2 separate regions of the Homo sapiens genome follow, and region 1 is linked to region 2. The links are contacts of gene promoters, found by promoter capture Hi-C in blood cells and fetal thymus (Javierre and others, 2016). All regions are on one chromosome and are shown on one strand. The core of a region is centred on a gene start or on the middle of the fragment in contact, and the rest is flanking DNA. Distances in the headings are between cores, read along the strand shown. Region 1 overlaps DDX10 (DEAD-box helicase 10). Region 2 holds the start of ACAT1 (acetyl-CoA acetyltransferase 1).

Region 1 (3,883 bases), core at 1,373-3,872, 570 kb before region 2:
ATCGGCAAGCTCACCAGCCCTTGCAGGGTGACAGACCCTCTCTGTGCTGGTGAGACTTATCCCCACCTCAGGAGGCACTGGTATCATCTCAGCCCCATGCCCAAGAAGCTGCTGCTGATGGTGGGTATTGACAATTGCTATACCTCGACCAAGAGGCTGCATTGCCACCCTGGGCAACTATGCCAAGGCCACCTTTGATGCCATCTCCTACTCTAAAGAGTAGAAACTTTAAACAGAACTTTAAATAGAACTTTCAGAATCATTTCCTAGCACCTAGATGCCAAAACCAACTAACTCTTCTTTAGGAGATGTGAAGTTTATTGTTTTGTTGTTGGCTACTGCTCAGGATACACTTCCAAGTTGCCTTGAGGAATGCTCCCAGGAGACTGGAAGCTTTGAAAATCTAAAATCGGTCCTTGAAAAACTGAAGTCTTTTTTTTTTTTTTAAAGACAGGGTGTCGCCATCTTGCCCAAGCTGGTCTTAAACTTCTAGACTCAAGCAATCCTCCTACCTCAGCCTCTTAAAGTGCTGGGATTACAGGCGTGAGCCACCGCACCAAGGCTGAAGTCATTCTTTACATGGTAAAATAAGGTTCAGTAGACAACAGCATCAGATCACCACTTAACTTCCCATAAGCTAGAGAGAAACCCATCTACATATTTATCATGGAAAGTTATTGCAAAAGCTGTAAATCTAGAATTGATCTACTACATTCCCTATTAAGTCATTGGGAATCTGAAATATAGTACAGGAGAAGAGGCACACGCACGCACACATGCACAAAGACCGTAGTCCCTTCTCCTTAAGAGAGGAGACAAAGTTCTCTTAGACATCTCTGAAATCCTTATTCTTTATTCCTAGCACAGGGCTAGTGTTCAAGAAGTGTTTATTAACTAAGATATAAACAAAACACTTCAGAAGGTTAGGGGAGGGAACAACTGATTCTTTAAAAAGGGAGTGTCAGAAAGGGACTTTCAGGCATAACATTTGAACTTAGCCTCAAAGTAAGTATTTCCCCAGATTTAGATGAAGAGATGCAGGGAGGGCATTCCAGACAGATCAGCATAAACAAAGATATACGGCATGGAAATAAATGGTATATTCATTCCCATATTCTTGGAGGGTAAGGGAGGTATCAGATTATAAAGACCTCTGCTTAGCTTGGATAACAATTATTCATTCTACTAATATTTATTGAGGACTACATTTCCAGTATTGTTAGCACTTAACATAATACCTAAGAAAAGACACAGTTTCTGTCCTTGTGGAGTTGAAAGTCTCAGCCACGGATTCCTTTGCAACAAGGACACGAAAGATCCCTCACCACACCTAGCACTGTACTTCTCGTACAATATAATAATTTGTCTAATTGATTTGCCATTTCAAAAGGGACATTCAACATACGTTCAGAAAGCAAAATAAACAGCCAATACCTCTTTGCAACTGGAAAAAAATACAATGCTCTTCTTCTTCAGATGGCTTCTCAAAAAGGAATACAGCACACTTATTTTTTGCTGCAGCTCACAGACTATGTAGTTCTGTTCCAAAGTGGCAGGGGTGCTTGTGGAATTACGGAAAAGAAAAACATTAGAATATGTCATGTAAGTAACTGAAATCCAGACCAAAAAAGGAAACAAGTTTTAATAGTGGCACATCTCTCAAGCAAATTTCCTACACACATACACCAAAAAAAGAATTTTTCTCTATTGTCCCTTAGGAAACAAATTCAACACATTACTTTAAAACACATTCAAAATCCCTTGTAAATCAATGTCAAACAAAGCATGACAAGAACAGTGATTACCTCTAAAAATGCAGGGTCAAGGATTAACTAAGAAGAGGTGTAAGAGAACTTGCTGGGCTGATTAGTATTCCACATCTCATTAGGGCTTTAGATTACTGAGATATACACATTCATCAAATTCAACTGTATACTTACAATTTTCATATTTCATGGTACACAAATTTTATGCCAAAAGAAAAAAAATCTGTTCAAATATTAAACTCTCAGTAATACGTGTGCTGAAGTATTTGGAGAGAATACAGATATCTGCAATTTACCCTGAAATCCATCAAAAATAAAATGGGTTAATATAGAAGGGATGGATGAAAGCAAGTAAATGGATGCTACCATTAGATAGTATCTAGGTGTTTGGTATAAGGTATTTATGGTAGAAGTCTTTCAATGTACCATATGTTTGAAATTTCATTATAAAATGTTGGAGAAAAATATACATGCATTTACTCTTTGAATTAATAAACCTACTTTATTCCAACATTACTCTGGTTTTAAACACACACATATACACACACACAAATATATGGCATTATTTATGAAGCAAAAAATGATGAAAATCAACCCAAATGTCCATCAGTAGGGACTTGCAGTATGAACAATTACACAGCCACATACATTAATTATTATGCAACTGTAAAAAAGGAATGAAGATTCTATCCATATATTGCTGAGGAGTGATGTCTAGGACACACTGTTAAGGAAAGAGGTAAGGGGCAGAATAGTACAGATAGTTTGGTACTATTTATCAGGGGGCTATACATTATATATCCATATACATGCCCACCCATGTGTGTCTGTGTTTACAGTGAAAGAAAAAAGGAGGAGGGACAGACAAACCAAAAACTACAAGTCAACTGGTTTTAGATATGACTAAGTTATGATCCACAAAGGGAAGAATTGATAAGCTGGACTTCATTAAAATTAAATGTTTCTGATCTGTGAAACACACTATCAAAAGAATTAGAAGATAAGCCACGGAATGGAGAAAAATATTTGCAAAAAACATCTGATAAAGGACTGTTCTCCAAAATATACAAACAACTCTTAAAATTCAACAATAAGAACAGAAACACCCAATTTTAAAAGGGGGAAGGAGGCCAAAAATCTTAACAGACACCTCTCCAAAGAGGATATGTAGATAAAAAAAATAACCATATGAAAAGATGCTACACCAGCCTGGGCAACATGGTGAAACCCCATCTCTACAAAAAAATACAAAAGTTAGCTGGGCATGGTGGCATGTGCCTATAGTCCCAGCTACCTGGGAGGCTGAAGCAGGAGCATCAATTCAGGCTAGGGAGTTCGAGGCTGCAGTGAGCCATGATCATGCTACACTGCACTCTAGCCTGGGTGACAGAGTAAGACCTTGTCTCAAAAAAATAAAAAACAATTTAAAGATGATCCATATCATATGTCAACAGGCAAAAGTTAATTAAAATAACGATATGTCACTTCACACTTATTAGATGGCCAAAATCCAGAACAGTGACGACACCAAACGCTGGCAAGGATGTGGAGCCACAGGAACTATCCTTCACTGCTGGCAGAAATGCAAAATGATACTGCCATTTTGGAAGACAGTATAGCAGTCTCTTAAAACCAAACATACTTGAGGCCGGGCGCAGTGACTCATGCCTGTAATCCCAGCACTTTGGGAGGCTGAGGCAGGCAGATCACGAGGTCAGGAGATCGAGACCATCCTGGCAAACACAGTGAGACCCCATCTCTACTAAAAGTACAAAAAAAGTAGCCGGGCGTGGTGGCGGGCACCTGTAGTCCCAGCTACTTGGGAGGCTGAGGCAGGAGAATGGCATGAACCCGAGGGGCAGAGCTTGCAGTGAAGGGAGATTATGCCACTGCACTCCAGCCTGGGCGACAGAGCAAGACTCTGTCTCAAAAAAACATACTTTTAGTACCTGACCCAACTATCACGTTCCTTGGTATTTACCAAAAAGAGTTGAAAACATACGTCCACACAAAGATCTGCAAAAGGATGTTTATTGCAGCTTTATTCATAATTGCCAAAACTTGAAGGCAATCAAGATGTCCTTCAGTAAGTGAATGGATAAATAAACTGTGGTACA
Region 2 (4,040 bases), core at 1,541-4,040:
GGGAGGCCAAGGTTGCAGTAAGCCAAGATCGTGCCACTGCACTCCAGCCTGGGCAACAAGAGCGAAACTTGATCTCAAAAAATAAAAAAGAAAGAAAGAAATTAGCAACAGGAAGGAAGTAGCATACAGGCTGTTAGGTCAAAGGGAAGAAGCAAGGTTACCAAAGCCAAGGGGTCAGGATCCCAGCAGAAGCGGGAACCACAAGAGAGACAGACACTGCCAGATACAGACAGACAGACAAATTATTCTGGCTTCTCCCTTCCTCCTATCTTCCAATCTTCCACTGGTGCCTTCCAGTGGCTACACCCAGCCAGAAGCCAGCTGATATTGGTCAGCCTACAGTAATGCAGACAGACTAGGGGAGGGAAGATAAATGAATCTGGGAGCAAATAAGCCCAAGACTGGCACAATACAGGAATTTTTTTTTAAGTCTGAGTATTAAAAGAAGCTGAATAAAACTGGATCAAAACACAAAACAGTTTCAAGAAGGGAGTGGTCAATAGTGTCAAATATAGGATAAAGGTCAAGAAGAAAAAACTTGGGCTGAGCACAATGGCTCACACCTGTAATCCCAGCACTTTGGCAGGCCAGGAGTTCAAGACCAGCCTGGCCAACAGAACCAGACCCCGTGTCTACAAAAACTAAAATTAAAATAGATTTAAAAAAATAATTAAAAAACAAAGAAAAAGGAAATCACTGTATTTTTCAGCTTCAGTGGCAAAGAAATTTAACTGCAGAGAGTTAAGGAGAAATAGATGCAGAATACATGGGAGGTAATGAGTAAAGACCACTCCTTTGACCAGAGAGAGAAAAGTGATTAGAGCTAGAAAGGCAATGTGCTCCAATAAAGTCCATAAAGATTTGTTGACCATAAAAGAGACCTGGTAAGCAAAGGGAAAAGAGCCAATGTAATGAGAGGTCAAATTCCATTCTACAAAATAGCACAGAAAACTGGAAATCCTGTTTATAGTTCAGTAAATGACCATTTAATTCAAGTGTCCAATACAACTGCTTCCTAGAGTTCAGTAATATGAATGTCACATATCATACATTACAGCATGTACAGGCTTATTTTTTTCATGAGGAGTATTTGTGTTTCATTTTAAGATCTTTTTTTTTAAGACGGAGTCTCACTCTGTTGCCCAGGCTGGAGTGCAGTGGCATGATCTCAGCTCACTGCAACCTTCCCCTCCTCCCGGGTTCAAGCGATTCTCCTGCCTCAGCCTCCCAAGTAGCTGGGATTACAGGCGCCTGCCACCACACCCAGCTAATTTTTGTGTGTGTGTGTATTTTTAATAGAGGTGGGGCTTCACCACGTTGGCCAGGCTGGTCTTGAACTCTTGACCTCAAATGATCTACCCACCCCGGCCTCCCAAAGTGCTGGGATTACTGGCATAAGCCACCTCAACCAACCTGATTGTAAGATCTTAATTAAACCATAAATTAAGAAGGTTCTGAACTTTTTTTTTTTACATCTCTAGAGTACCTAGTTCACCTATGTCACCTAGTCAATACTGACTGAAACCCAAGATAACCTAATTACTTTCTTGTGATTTCTTCACTCATCCCATGAGACTAACAAATAGGCTAAAAACTCATCTTCCCTGGAAACCTACGCCTTGTGACTTTTCTATTATCTCAGTCACCCAGGATCAATTTTAGACTCTTTCTTTTCCCTTGGCTTCGCACCCTCACTCCCTAATTGTCAAGTCCTAGACTGGTTCTTTTACAATCTCTTGCAAAGCTCCTACCGCCAGCACCCTTGTGCAAGTAATGTTATTCTACGCCCAGACGTAAGAACTAGAGTGACCTACCATTGCAACAAAAACAAACATATCAACAATCCCTACTTAACTAGGGTCAAGTCCATACTCACAACATAACTGGATCTCCAAGCTTATTGCCCCCATCGACCTAGAAAACTCAAGCTTCACCAACCACACCCTGAAGGTCTCTACCTATTCCTGAGGCTTTGCCTGACAATCTGTGGTGCGTACTCCCTTGCTTACGCATGTGGAGAATAAATTCTTTGAGACTCTGCCCCTGCTGTGTTCCCTAAACACAACGGTCAGAAGAGCGACAGCCCTTGGAACGCCCTCAGTATGTGAGCTTTGCTCATATGTCAAGTATAATTTATTGTATTATCTGAGTAGTCATTTGTTTTCCCTGATAAATTTCAGGCTGCTCCAAAAAACATCTGTTATGATCACATGGTGCCCTCTCCCCTTGTATGCCCAATGATTATCTATTGTATTAAAAAAGAAAAGGAACCTCTCCTGACAATAACGCACACAAATATGTTTTAAAGAAAATCTCGGGAGCAGCTGCACAGGCCTGCAAAGAGACTCTCCCCGATCCCACCGCTCAGGCCGGGCCAGCGCCAATCCTGGCGGTCCTGCCCGCCCAGACACGTGCCCTTGTTTGACACACCAGTAACGCTCATTAAGATGATTACGCCGAGACCTTGGAAGTAGAAACGCGCTGTAAAAATAGGCGAGTCCCTGGGTGTTATCGGAGCACTTAGGCGGTTTTTGGACCAGAACCCGTCGCGTGACTGTCCTGGGGCCTAAGCCGCGCGCCCGGGCCGCGGGAGCCGCAACGGCCGCGGGCTGGAAGCTTCCGAGGCGGGGACTCCTCGCATCCCGGGTCTGAGTGCTGTGGGGACGAACCCCGCTCACCTGCACCAGCCTCCGGAGCAGGGGGCTGCGGCTGCGGGCGCCGCTGCGCAGAAGTGCCGCCAGCACAGCCATGGTCGCAGAGGGCTGAGTATCGGCTCCACAGGCGTAGACTAGCGGCCTCCTCCCCAACCCCGCACCCCTAGCGGCCCGGCGCGGGCACCGCCCATCCCGCTTCCTCCAATAGTCGCCTCTCAGTCGGCGGCGATTGGCCGGCAGCCAAGGGCGGGGCGGAGCCTGGCGCTGGGACACCGCAGCCTGGGCCAGGAAAGGTTGACGAGTGAAGGACGTGGATGGAGACACTGGCGCTGGGGTCAACGAGCACCTGACACGCTGCTGGCTCCCGTGTCCACCAAGTCTAACCTGCCGGGGCCGGTGGTTTATGTGTAATCCGAGATTTTTCGATTTACTGAGCATGTTTCCCTTAGGCCTACCCAGCACAAACTCATGAAAATATTTTAGGATTTTTTTTTTTTTTTTTGAGACAAGGTCTCACTCTGTCACCCAAGCTGGAGTGCAGTGACGTGACCACAGCTCACTGTAATCTCGACCATCAGGGCTCAAGCGATCCTCCCTCCCCAGCCATCCCAGTAGCTGAGACTACAGGCGAAAGCCTCCACAACCAGATAATTTTTGTATTTTTTGTGGAGACGGGGTTTCACCATGTTGGCCAGACTGGTCTTGAACTCCTGGACTCAAGTGAGCCTCCCTCCTCGGCCTCCCAAAGTGCTGGGATTACAGGCGCAGGCGACCACGCCCAGCAAATTGTTGTATTTTTTTTTTTTTGTAGAGACTAGGTCTCCCTATGTTGCCTAGGCTGGTTGCTGACTCCTGGGCTCAAGCAGACGGCCAGACTCAGCCTCTCAAAGTGCTGGGATTACAGGCGTGAGCCATCACACCCAGCCGTGAAAATATTTTGAAGCAATCAAATTCCAGGCTCAGTCCAGATACAAATATGGGTAAAAAGGCCTCAGGTGATTCCAGTCCCCAACCTTCAACCACTCCAGCTGAGACCCCAGACATCATGGAGCAGAGACAAGCCATACCCACCATGCTGTCTGAATTCATGGTCCACAGAAACGAGAGAAAACAAATGGTTGTTATTTTAGGCCATTATGTTTTGGAGTATTTTTTTTTTTTAAGATAGGGTCTCGCTCTTGTCACCCAGTCTGGAGTACAGTGGTGCAATCATATCTCACTGCAGCCTCAAACTCCTGGTCTCAGGGGATCCTCCTGTCTCTGCCTCCCAAGTAGCTAGGGGATCCTCCTGTCTCTGCTTCCCAAGTAGCTACGTAGCTAGGACTACAGGCATGCTCCACCATGCTAATTTTTTTAATTTTTATTTTATATAGAGAAGGGGTCTTG

Evidence for each region. The method cuts DNA at HindIII sites, captures the fragments that hold promoters and counts their contacts. A CHiCAGO score of 5 or more calls a contact.
Region 1: a fragment that was not itself captured here is called in contact with the fragment with the promoter of ACAT1 in region 2 in 5 of 17 cell types (naive CD4 T cells, activated CD4 T cells, total CD4 T cells and 2 more); the score reaches 6.3 in naive CD4 T cells.

The regions. Positions count from the first base shown.
Region 1 is chr11:108,686,614-108,690,496 of GRCh38, reverse strand. DDX10 (DEAD-box helicase 10) reads right to left here. Exons shown (of 18, transcript NM_004398.4): 7 at 1,435-1,561. It also overlaps the pseudogene RPS2P39. Among named protein-coding and RNA genes, the nearest start is that of DDX10, 23 kb to the right of the region's middle. The HindIII fragment of the contact is 4,453 bases long and covers 396-3,883 here.
Region 2 is chr11:108,120,317-108,124,356 of GRCh38, reverse strand. ACAT1 (acetyl-CoA acetyltransferase 1) reads right to left here and starts at 2,790. Exons shown (of 12, transcript NM_000019.4): 1 at 2,679-2,790. The coding sequence starts at 2,750. RefSeq lists enhancers at 114-173, 234-353 and silencers at 2,579-2,988, 2,590-3,128. The HindIII fragment of the contact is 9,706 bases long and covers 2,619-4,040 here.